Linked DNA regions of Homo sapiens: regions 1 and 2 are each linked to region 3. Evidence: promoter capture Hi-C in 16 types of primary human blood cells and fetal thymus (Javierre and others, 2016). All regions are on one chromosome and are shown on one strand. Each heading gives the region's core, a stretch centred on a gene start or on the middle of the fragment in contact. The rest is flanking DNA. Distances are from core to core; before and after follow the strand shown. Region 1 overlaps LOC105377407 (a long non-coding RNA gene). Region 2 has its middle 340 kb from the start of LINC01091. Region 3 holds the start of SPRY1 (sprouty RTK signaling antagonist 1).

The links. Contacts are between HindIII fragments. The CHiCAGO score rates a contact against its expected background, and 5 or more counts as called.
Region 1: a contact is called between a fragment that was not itself captured here and the fragment with the promoter of SPRY1 in region 3, in 2 of 17 cell types (endothelial precursors and megakaryocytes). The highest score is 10.0, in endothelial precursors.
Region 2: a fragment that was not itself captured here is called in contact with the fragment with the promoter of SPRY1 in region 3 in 1 of 17 cell types (endothelial precursors); the score reaches 6.0 in endothelial precursors.

The regions. Positions count from the first base shown.
Region 1 is chr4:124,106,935-124,110,996 of GRCh38, reverse strand. The region is part of intron 2 of LOC105377407 (a long non-coding RNA gene); the gene reads left to right. Among named protein-coding and RNA genes, the nearest start is that of LINC02516, 450 kb to the left of the region's middle. The HindIII fragment of the contact is 1,639 bases long and covers 1,363-3,001 here.
Region 2 is chr4:123,990,587-123,994,513 of GRCh38, reverse strand. No RefSeq gene overlaps it. Among named protein-coding and RNA genes, the nearest start is that of LINC01091, 340 kb to the right of the region's middle. The HindIII fragment of the contact is 3,113 bases long and covers 1-3,049 here.
Region 3 is chr4:123,395,304-123,399,108 of GRCh38, reverse strand. SPRY1 (sprouty RTK signaling antagonist 1) reads right to left here and starts at 2,314. Exons shown (of 3, transcript NM_001258038.2): 1 at 2,177-2,314; 2 at 1,253-1,498. RefSeq lists a silencer at 330-879. The HindIII fragment of the contact is 9,971 bases long and covers 1-3,805 here.

The DNA of each region.
Region 1 (4,062 bases), core at 933-3,432, 710 kb before region 3:
TATAATGGTATTTATTTTTTAAATGCAAATATTAAAATGCTACATTGAAACACATGAAATTGCTGATATTCACCTATTTTTAATCTACAAGGAAGACAATTTCATATGGTCCAATCTATATATACAAATAATGAGAAAGTAAACTGATTTTTTTCCCCAGAACTCAGGATTGAGGGTGATGATATGAGGGGATTTATAGATAATTTGAAAATATATTTTGTAAGAAGAATATATTCAAATACTGTGTAAATAAAATGTATTAAATGTATATTTAATTTTCCCCCAAATTTTAATATTTTAAATCTTCATTTACCTATGAAGTTCTTAAATTATCAAGATACCTGCAAAAGAAAGTACTTGTACTATTTCTCATTATGCATTAATACTTTTCACATGTACACTACAAACAAATGGGTATGAAGAACAAACACACTGCAATCTGTTACTCATACAGAGTAAAGAATCTGAACTAACCCTGACAACTAAAGAAATTTTATATTTTATATGACTTGACAGAGTAAATCCTTTAGGAAAGCAATGAAGAATCAGTCAAATACTCTTAGACTTACTTAGAAAAATCATTGAACATGATCAATTTAGTAATTCTTTTTTTGTAAGGAATTAATTCATTAAAGTGAATATAACAAATTTTTAAAATAGGTATAATATATTCTAATATTCTTTGCAATAACAATATATGCAGTTATAATATTAAACAATACCGTACATGTGAACCCTTGCTGATATAATAAACTGCCAAAGCCATAGGGATTATTAAATTTTAAGTTGATCATCCCTCTGTATCTTCAGAATGGCTGCCGTAACAGTGATTTTTTTAAATTCTGTTTCCATTCTTGCTGCCCTAGTTCTAACACACATTTTTTTATTCCAATACCCTCTCTCTATATAAAAATATATGTATTATATATGAATAAATATTTATGTATTAGCATGAAAGGCAAAATATTAGGTATTGCTGTTAGCAGATATCAACTGAATCAACCTGGCAATATATTGGATAAGAGTAGCCGGAAGTCCTAGTTTGGGTCCTGCAGTAAACCCAACCTTCTCTTCGAGATATATATGAAAATTAATAGGGCTGACTTCACATAGTCACACTTCTAACTCAGATCTTGTGCTAAATTATTTTAGTTATGTCTTAAACTTTTTGGCAGCAAGAAATGGATTTTGGTCTTTCTCTCTTATACTTAGGCAAAAATCCCAACAAAATAACATAAACTTTGTAGGTCTTCCTGATGATTTAGAAAGGTAGAGGGTGTACATCACAACATGTAATTATCTTTAAATAATATTTTATATATTCCTTAAAAGTTTCCTTTTAAAATTCTTCCCACTCAAGCTTCAACTTCTCCATTTCTCACTCCTCCTTCCAGCAAACTTTAGGAATCATCACTAAGAGTCACAATTACCTGCCATTCTATTAGGTGAGCAATTCAGTTCTCACCAAAATCTCCAATTTCAACCCAACCTTTTCTTATCTCCAACCTTCCAAGATTCTCTGATGAACAACAGTGTCTTTTCCATTTTTCTTTCGCCAAAATAGTTCTAAAAATCTGAGCAAAGGATTCTACTATAATAGTGATGTAACCTGTATCTCAGGCTTTTTATTCTTACTGATCAAGGAACCATTGAAGATATTATGTAATAAAGTGTCTAAACCAATCAGAAATCGGAGAAAACGAAATGTGCTCTGGTGTAAACTGGCTGATAACAACAGAAACTACTGTGAGATGTATTTTTGTAAAATCCTGAACAATTATACAAAGTGCTGCAAGAGTTAGTATTACAGATATAGAAGCTAAAGCAGAGAGGAGGTTAAGTAATTTGCCCAGTATTATACAATCAGTGTTCGACAGAGGTTGGACTGGAACCCAGGCCCCTGACTTCAGAATCTACAGTCATAATCATTACGGGGATTTACATGCAAATGCTTACAGAGGCCAGCCAGGCAGCAATAGGTCTGTGAATTGGACTGGCCAAGTCTAGGGTCTAAGGTAGAGAGTTATTGGTATCTCTGACAACTCTAAAAGGGCTTGGCCAACTCACTGACAAATCATATTAGTAGTTGGAATACATTCGAGTGAGAACAAATCTCAAAATCTCACACTTAATCTATGTGGCTTATTTACAGATACAGAAACAAACCTCTCTTTTCCAAGTTTCCTAAAATATTTAGTCCCTCCTTTTACTTCTAAACTTGGTGAAGTTCTAAACTTCTTTGAAGACTCAGATACAAGGTTTCTGCAGGTTCTGAAGGTCCTAAGTTTCACCTGAATTATATCCTAGCTACTTTGAATGGCTATATTTTCTTCTTGAACTTTTTCTTTCCAGGAATTTGATTAAGGATATTTATACTTGTTTTTTCCCCATATGTCCCTTAACTTTTCTTTAAGTTTTCTATTTATTTATGCTTCCTTGTTTCTTTCTGGAATGTTTCCCAAACTAATCTTTAATTTTGTAATTCACTGATTATTTATTTATACTACCTAGTATATTCTTTATTTCATCTATTGTCTTCACACATAATCCTATTTGGATCTTCTTATGCTTTCTTATTCTTATTGTATATATTTAATAGCTTCCTTTTTTACTTATTATGCTTACTCTGTATTATTTGTTTCTTAGTTATATTTTCTCCACTTTCAGTGAAATACAATTTCAATTTGTAGTTTTGAAATAGTTGTACTCTTTAGGTCTTTTTCTTTGTCTCTTCTGGTGCTTATGAGCTAATATTCTCCTCCTTATGCCTTTCTAAATAGATTATACAATAACTTATTGTATATAAATATATAATTATACAATATACAATATAATACAATAAGTTATTGTATATCTGTTTAGAAAGGCATAAGGAGGAGAATATAAACTCATAAGCACCAGAAGAGACAGAAAAAAAGATCTAAAGAGTACAACTCTCCAGGAGTTATTGTATAATCTATTTAGAAAGGCATAAGGAGGAAGGAAAGTAGACGTTGAAGCTTCTGCTGGTTCAGCATTTTGGTAGAAATTGGGACTGAAACCTCCCTTGTACCCCTTCTACTCTATTTTCCAGATATGATAGAGACCATATGCTCTAACCACAAACCAAGAAATTCAGAAGTTAATAATAAAAAGATAAGTCAAATTATCTTATATTTGAAAATTAGAAAAAAATTTCCAAATAACTCAGGAGTTAGAAATAAATCAATATGAAAAATTCAAAAGACCTAGAGGTGTATAATAATGAAATACTACATGTCAAAATGTATAGGGCTGCATAAGACACCCGTTAAGGGAACATTATATTTTTAAATGCATACATCAGAAATTCAGAAAGGCTAAGAATTAATGAGCAAAGTATCTAACATTTAGAAAATAATAACCAAATATACCCAAATATAACAGAAGAAAAGAAACAATAAAAATAAAAGCATAAATGATAAAATAGAAAATATACATTAGAGTGATGAAAACACAATAGATGGATCAATAAAACCAAAAAGTGGTTGTTTAGAAAAATGACATCAAAATATGCAAATAGTTAACAAGACAATTAAAGACAAAAAGAAAGAAAGCACAAATATTATAAATGGAAAATATGACCAGACTACAGATGAGGCATAAATAAAATTAAAAGATAACAGGAAAATAGTCTCAAGAGACAACAATTTTGAAAATTTATTCAAAATGGACAAATACATTGAAAACTATAACTTACCGAACCAGAATCAAGAAGCAACTAAAAGCCTGAATAGTCCTGCTACTACTAAGGACTTGAAATAGTAGCAAAACAGAAACATTTCCCCAAATTAAACTTCAGGCACAGAGAGTTTTATTTTATTTTATTTAACTTTCAAAGAACAAATTATCCCTAACACATAAAAATTAAAAGTCCACACTCCTAGAATAAAAGTCATTGTTCTGTAGACATTTTAACAAGTCAATGTAAGAAATGTGGCTTTTAACATATTTTGCTGATCAATGACAACGCTTTTCAGTCAATCCGTGTCTAAAAACCAGCCAATCAGTGACAGCCCTACATTTTGAACATCAGCTAACCAG
Region 2 (3,927 bases), core at 244-2,743, 600 kb before region 3:
TTAATTTCTTAAATAATCCTCTGAGCTAGTATGTATTAGTCTCATTTAGAGAGGAGAAAACTGAGCCTTAGAATGGTTAAGTACTTGTTAAACTGTTCCTAGGACTGTATGACAGAAAACAATATGTCCTTAATGACTATATACTATTTTATGCATGTATATTGAAAGAGCTTTCCATGGACTCTAGAAATAAATATTTACACCTAGAAATAGGCCAAATTTTTGTATTATTACACATAAAAGTATTAAAAGCATCCAGCAGAGCTAGTTAATTGATTATAAAGTAAAAATATCAAGCTGTCTAAGACATCTTCTATAAAACACAAAATACTGACCAGGCACAGTGGCTCACACCTGTAATCCCAGCATTTTGGGAGGCCAAGGCAGGCGGATCACCTGAGGTTGGGAGTTCAAGACCAGCCTGACCAACATGGAGAAACCCAGTCTCTACTAAAAATACAAAATTTGCCGGGCATGGTGGCACATGCCTGTAATACCAGCTATTCGGGAGGCTGAGGCGGGAGAATTCCTTGGACCCAGTAGGTGGAGGTTGCGGTGAGCCAAGATCATGCCATTGCACTCCAGCCTGGGCAATAAGAGTGAAACTCCATCCCCCGCTCCCCCAAAAAAACCACACACACAATACTGAAAAACAGATGGATGGAGCAATGACTGCCTAGTCATAAAACATATAGCACAGGTGGTCTTTCAAAATATGAGGACCTAGAGATGAATAAAAATTAAGAACTGAAGGATGTGGATGACATAATTTAATTGAAAACAGTTAACCATACTGTTAAAACTAAACAACTGTAAATCTAGCTACAAAACTAAAGGCAAAGTTTTTAAAAAGTTGAAGAAAATACGTAATTCCAAATTTAATAGTTTAGTGTATTCATCTGAATTTAAAATAGTAATATTTTTCATGTTACATGAAAGAAAGTCTAACATTAATTTTTTACAACACAGGTTCCTCAAAGGTTATAGAGCGTGGTTAAAAATGCAAGCTAGAGAGAGATTTATTAAGCAAAGGCAAAGGTTATAATAGCAATTCAGACAAAAGTGATTTCAAGGTAAAAAAACTCATTAAAAAGAAAAAAGTTATCTAATATTGATAAGAAATAACAGCTATGAAACTTTATTAGCAGGATAATATTTTATAGAGACATACAAAGTCAAAACTGTTAAAACATGAATATATCTACTAATATTGTCATGGGAACTTTGACATATATTTAAATACTTTTATGACCTACATAGGCCCAAAATAAATGAAAATATAGATCTCTTTATAATCTAATTAAGATAGCTTAATAACAGATATGCATAGGATTTAGTACATTCCAAATTGAGTAAACTATTTACTGAGGTCCTATGGTATATTTACAAATGTTATTTTGTCATAAAAGATCTCAATTAATGCTTAAATGTTGAAAATATATATACTACATTTTCAAGTAATACTGAAAAAAATCAAAAAGTTAAACATAAAATATCCACAACAACAACATAAGAGCCAACATACATAGACTGGAAAATAGTCCCTAACTTACTTTTGTGTCAGTGAGGTACATAAAATTGCAGCTAAAGAACATTTACACACTCAGGTTAGAGTGCTACATATCAAACCTATGGGTTGCCCTGAAGCCATGGGCAGAGAAGAAATCATAACTGTAAATGTGTTGGCCATTAAAGAAGCCTTTGAGCAGGCAACTATAATCCTATTTTTGAACTGCTCTTACTCCCTCCTCCTACTTGACTAGGTCATTTTTCATCGTTATAACTAATTCCTTAGCATCGGTTAGATTTCTGCTCAAAAGTCATTTTCACAAGGAAGCCTGTCCTACTGAAATGTGATAGTTCCCTTGACCCCTGCAAAGGAGTTGACTCATGTACTCAGCTCAAAGCTCTCAACCTCTTGTGGGAGGGGGAGCATGCAGGTGAGCAGGTACAGAGGCCAGAATGAGCACTTCTGGCAGAAGAACTCTGTGCAGGCCCATGGCAGCATCTTGGGGTTGTCAGGGACCCCTGGAACCCCAGAGGGTATGTGTTAAAGTGTGTTCTTTTAGCTTTGCCATCCATGGATGGCTTAAGTGTTAACTCAGTGGAGGGTCACTGTGACAACCTCTTGAACCCACACTCAGGTCTTCATCTGGCATCCAGGATGAATCAGGTCATGCAAAGAAGTTGAAGGATGGTAAATGTGGAAGATTTTATTGAGTGGTGGAAGTGGCTCTCAGTGGGATGGGGAGCTGGAAAGGGGATGGAGTGAGAAGGTGGTCTTCCATGGATTTTGGCCATCCCTGGCCAAACTCTTCTCCAAGGTCCCACCATCAAGCCATCCCTCTGAATTCAACCTGCTTCTCTCCAATATCCAGCTGCTTCTTCTCTCCTTCTTGACTGTTCTGCCACTCTGCTGGTGGGGACTGGGGTTTTTATGGGTACAGGATCGGGGGTGAGGCGGGCCAGGGGTGGTTTTGGAAAAGGCAACTTTTGAGCAGGACAAAAAGAATGTACGTTCTCACTTTGGGCCATGAGTCCAGGCTTGACCATGTGGCCCTCGCCAGGGACCTCTCTCTTCTACACAGTATTTCCCTGCCTCCTGTCCATATCATTACCTCCCAGACCATATCAATTCCTAATTTTATATATTTTCATACTATTATTTGTAATATATTTTATTTATTTTGATTCCTGATATATTAAGTAAAAGTAGGTTGCTATTTAAAAAGGAGCAGGGAAAAAGGAATTGATGGAAATTAAAACTACACTTGCCAAGCCTTAAAAGTAAAAACAAGAGCTAGAAGATATCATTTGAGAAACTCCCTTCCAACAAAGACAAAAAGACAAGACAGAAACACAAACATAAGACAATTCAACTCAGAAGACCCAAAACCTAACAATTATGTCTCCCTCAAAGAGGGAAAAGAAAAAAATTGGGAAGAAGTGGCTTGACAGAAGAAAAAATATAATGAAATTTTCCAAAACTGAAAAGGATAACCAGTCTTACACTAAAACTTTTAGATGTTAACCTCTGAGGAAGGAAGCTTGAGTGAGGGGAAAATATTAGTTTTTACTTGTATCCTTTTATACAGTTTGATATTTTTAGTCCACAAACAGGATTAAATTTTAAAGTTGATTTTATATAAATTTGAAAACAATATGAATGGGAACATTAAAGATGAGATGAAGAATTATGTACACGTTTTCTTTTCTTTTTTCTTTTTACCTTTTATCTTTCCAAAGATAGTGCTTGGAAACGTCTGCCCTGTTCTCCTGCCTCCAATCCAAACCCTAGTTATTCCCCTGAGTTAGGAGAGTCCCCAGAGTGGCCACAGCAGGAAGGATCTGGAGGAAAGGGCTGGGACAAGGATGAGGCAAGTGGGGAACTCCCCTTGGATACAAAAGTTAAGTGGTGCCACAAATCTCAGTAAGTAGGATAAACAATATTTTAATGCAATATTTAAAAAAATCAAAATTAATGAAAAATCCATGATGAACAAAATAATAAAATTTTGAGATGAAGGAATGATCACCATTATTGAATATTATTGCCTCAGTTTCCAGGATGGTTCAGTACACTCCAGCTAATGCACATGAGCAAATTTCAGAATCCATTGTATTCGTTCCCCTTCTTGGGAGCAACCAAAGCAGACTTGAGGTGAGGATCAGAACAGAGTGTATCCTGCAAAAAGATGCTCTGAGGGGAACTATGTTCCTATGAAAAGAAGAGGGCATGCTGTTTCTCATGAGAGTTTTTTTTTTTTTAAAGAATCGGCCCTTATCTCTGCCTCCACAGATTCTTTCACTAGGGGTCTGGGTAGGTTGATTGAGGCCAGGAGAGTGCTAGCACTTGAAGTTGTGGTGAACAAAGAACACAGAGACATCCTCAAGGGACCTCAACAGGATACTGACTACTTCTTGACC
Region 3 (3,805 bases), core at 1,065-3,564:
CACCGCGCCCAGCCGACTTCCCCACTTTTAAAGTGGCAGTGCCCTCTCCCTTCCCCTGTCTTTGCACTGTGCTCCAAACCAGAAGAAAGTTGCGGCTGGCTTTGGGGCTGCCTAATTCTATCGAGGGGGTAATCGGCGAATTCCGGGGATGTGCCTACACACACACACGCACACACACAGCCTTTGTCGTCCCCCTGCTTGAGGCACACTCCTCCAAAGAGGGCCTCCGGGGACATCCCCAGAGCCGCCTGAAATCCCCCTTGGGCGTGAAGGGCTCTCCGAGAGGACAACCTGGGCCACCGCGCCGCCGCTCCGGGTAATCGGGGATGGAGGAGACCCTGTCCTGTTACGTTCCGCAGCCGCAGACCGTCGCCCACCCCGCCACCCAACCTTGAGCCCCCAGAAGCCGCGGCCCCCAGGGGGCAGGGAGCGGCGGGAGGGGCCGCGCCGAGCGAGGTCGTCCCTCCCCTCCCCTCCTCTCCCGGAGTCCTGGCTCGGGCAGCAGCGCCGCCGAGTCCGCACCTGCCGCGCCGAGCGAGCCCCGCCCGCGCGCCTACAGCCCAGCGGGCCGAGGGCGGCCGCCGCACACACTCACCTAGGCCGAAGCGGTGGCCGGGGGCCAAGCCGTGCGACCCGGCCCAGGTCCTGGTGCGGGCGGCGGCGTGCACGTGCCGCATCAACCGCGGCGGGGAGGGCGAGGCGGCATCGCCGGAGTTGGAGCGCCTCGGCTCGCGGCCTCCCCCGCCCCCGCCGCCACCGGCCAGGAGCGCTCCCCGCGGCCCCCTTCCGGCTGCGGAGGGCAGTTCTCCCGCGGCTCCGCGCGGCCGGGCCCGGACCTGTCACGGCTGGTGCTCGCCGGGCGGCTCAGTAACATCCACCTCGGGAGGTCTTCTGCAGCCCCTTTCCAAGAACCAGTTTTTACAAATCCTTTCAGGAAGGCTTCCCAAGTCTCAGAAAAACAAGTAGGGGAGTGGCGGAGTCGAGTGCGTGACGGGCCAGCTGACGGCACGGTGTGCTCAGAGAACTCGGGTTCTAGTCGCTCCTCGCAAGGAACGAAGGAAGGGATGGCGGCTTCCTGACGAGCGAAAAATCCACGTCACGGGCGTTCGAGACTCCGCAGCGCCCGGGTCGGGGCCCGAACCGCCGTCGGCGGGTGGGTCACGGAGCCGCGCAGTACCCCGGCGAAACCTCGGAGCACGCGCCTGCCAGGCAGAGGCTGCCGCGGCCGGGAGGGGGAGGGGGATTTTTTTACCCTTTTCTTTTTTTTTTTTTTTTTAGCGGGGAGGAGTGAAGAGAGTGAGGTTTGGGGATCCTTCTCGGAGAGAGAAAGGCGGGCGTCGTCCCTTGTGCCCCGCGCAGGCCGACGCGCTTAGCCGATTCCGCACGTTGGGCAAGTGGGGGCACAGCGTCCCCGGGCACTCCGGTCCCGGCAGGTCAGCCTCTCCCGGGCAGCGCTCACACCCAGTCCTCCGAGCCTGGGGTTCCACGGCCGAAATGCCTGCGACAGAGAATTAGAGATAGAAGCTCGTGAATGTCCCTTTCTTCGAAGGGCTGGGACCCCGGGCGGGCCGCTGGCCAGCTCGCCCGCAGCCCGTTGCCATGTGCTCCCTGTTGCTGCTCCCGGTGATTGACAGGCCGGCGCACAGTCGGCGTGTCAGCCGCGAACCAAAGTAACATGCAGTCCTGCACGTTTTTGCCGAGGTGCTTTTGCCCCCTGGAATGCCTAGGAGTTCAAACAACGTTCAAGCAACGCCTCTGCGCGTTAGGAATCAATACACAGAGACGGGAAATTCAGGTTTTAAACCAATGCTTCACTCGGGATTCGGTCGCCAACAATGCCTAAACAAACACGCATTTGGTCCACACACCGAGTGCTAGCCCCTCTTCGCATAAAGGCATTAACGGCTCTGTGTTTCACAAATTCGATCGTTTCAGACTTTAAACGTCTACTGTTCGGTTAAGGAAAGGTGAAAGGGACCCTGCTTTTTCTTTTAGCGGTAGCATTTACTTTAAGAGCATTAGTTTTAGCAGTGGGAATGCTACCGGTGTTTTGAAATGCAACCAGTAACCTTAGCTGGAAAGCAAGTTCAAATAAATAAATGTTCAGTTCCTTGCAAAAGTCAACATTTCTCACCTTATCTTTCCTAAAATGTCTACGGAAGGAAACGGTACTTACCTAATGCAAAGATTGCAAATTGCTTTTCAGGCACATTTAACAGCGACTGTAGCTGTTCCTTATCCAGGGCAGGGAACTGTGCTGATAATCACTCTGCAAAGCACGCAGTGGTTTGCAGAGCGGTCTCACTCCGGCTACGCAGAATTTCAGCTCCTTGCCTCCACCTCCACCTCCACTCCAGGACACGCCTCCGGTGATATCATGTGTCAATCACTCGGGCTGCCCGAAAACCTGGAACAGGATTTCCTTAACTATCGTTTCCTCTTTCGTTTATGTGTACCAACTTGGAAATGTTGCCCTACAGACTCGTGTAATAAACATCCTCTTAAAACTTCGGGAGTGCCTCTAAAAATTCTGCAAATGCAGTTTGTCATAGAGGAATACATTCGGATTTAGTTAGCAATCTTCAGTTGTCGATCTCAATTAAAAGGATTGGTGGACTCTACTCTTAAGTTGAATTAGAAAAGAATTGTGAAGAATAAAAGAAAATGAAAAAAGTTGTATGCCAAGCCATCACTTCTGACCAACTAGAGGGAAAACGTATATTGACACAAAAAGATGATTATATAACATTACAGTTCCTATTTACAACAAAGTTCAGAATATGTGAAACCTAAAGTTCAAAAGGTGGCACTCCTTACTGCAAATGTAATATAAGCATATGTAATAAAGGTGAAATTTTCTGCTGTGGGTTTTTTAAATAATTGCTTTACCTTGGCTTGTTATATGATTTCCCAAAAATCAAGCACATGGAGAAAAAACCAAATTCTTTCAATTTTGTAATATAGTTGTATAATTTTGCAAAAAATACAAACCCGTATATTTTTTAATTAGCTAAAAGTCAATTAATTAGAATAGAAAAAATTTATCAAGAAGTTTTATAATTCTTAGTAATAGCTGATATGACTGGAAAAAAAACACTTTAAGTAGGAAACTTGATTTCTACTTTCTTACAAACTATGGGATTTTAGGCATTTATTATCAAAGTTGTGCCTTTTCATGCTGCAGTGAGGATAACTTTTTGTGGAATTGAAGGTTCCGTAGAAACTTTTAAAAGCCACCTAAAGACCAAAAACTTAGTGGAAAGGAAATATTTTTCCAGGTACTATATATCAGGAGTAGCTTAAAGTCTGGCAAAACAAAGCAAACAATAACAAAACTCTAGAATCTAAATCATATAAACATATAAGTATGGAAATTTTTAGTTCAAAGTACATTTTTAGTCTCATTTACAATAGCAAGTGGTTCTGTTGAAACTATAAATATATACATACATAACACACACGCACACACACAGGACTTTCAAATGTCTGAGCACTTTCAAAAATTAAAGTTGTGTTTGGAATTGCCTCTGAAGAACACAGAGCATTGTTAAGAACATGAATAACAATAAAAAAGCATCATTAGAAAATAGCATAGAATAAGAATCAAGCCAAAAAGCTACATATTCACTCTTAATATTATGAATTGTATTAAAATAGGCTATTTAAAAGAATAAAATTGATTTCATTGTATTTTTTTCATAGATCTCATTAGATTTGGGGATGTAATGAAATTTTACTAGTGATGGATAGGTTTCTTGTGAATGTATTTGGAATAGACAAATCAAAAATAGACTATCCTATCAGA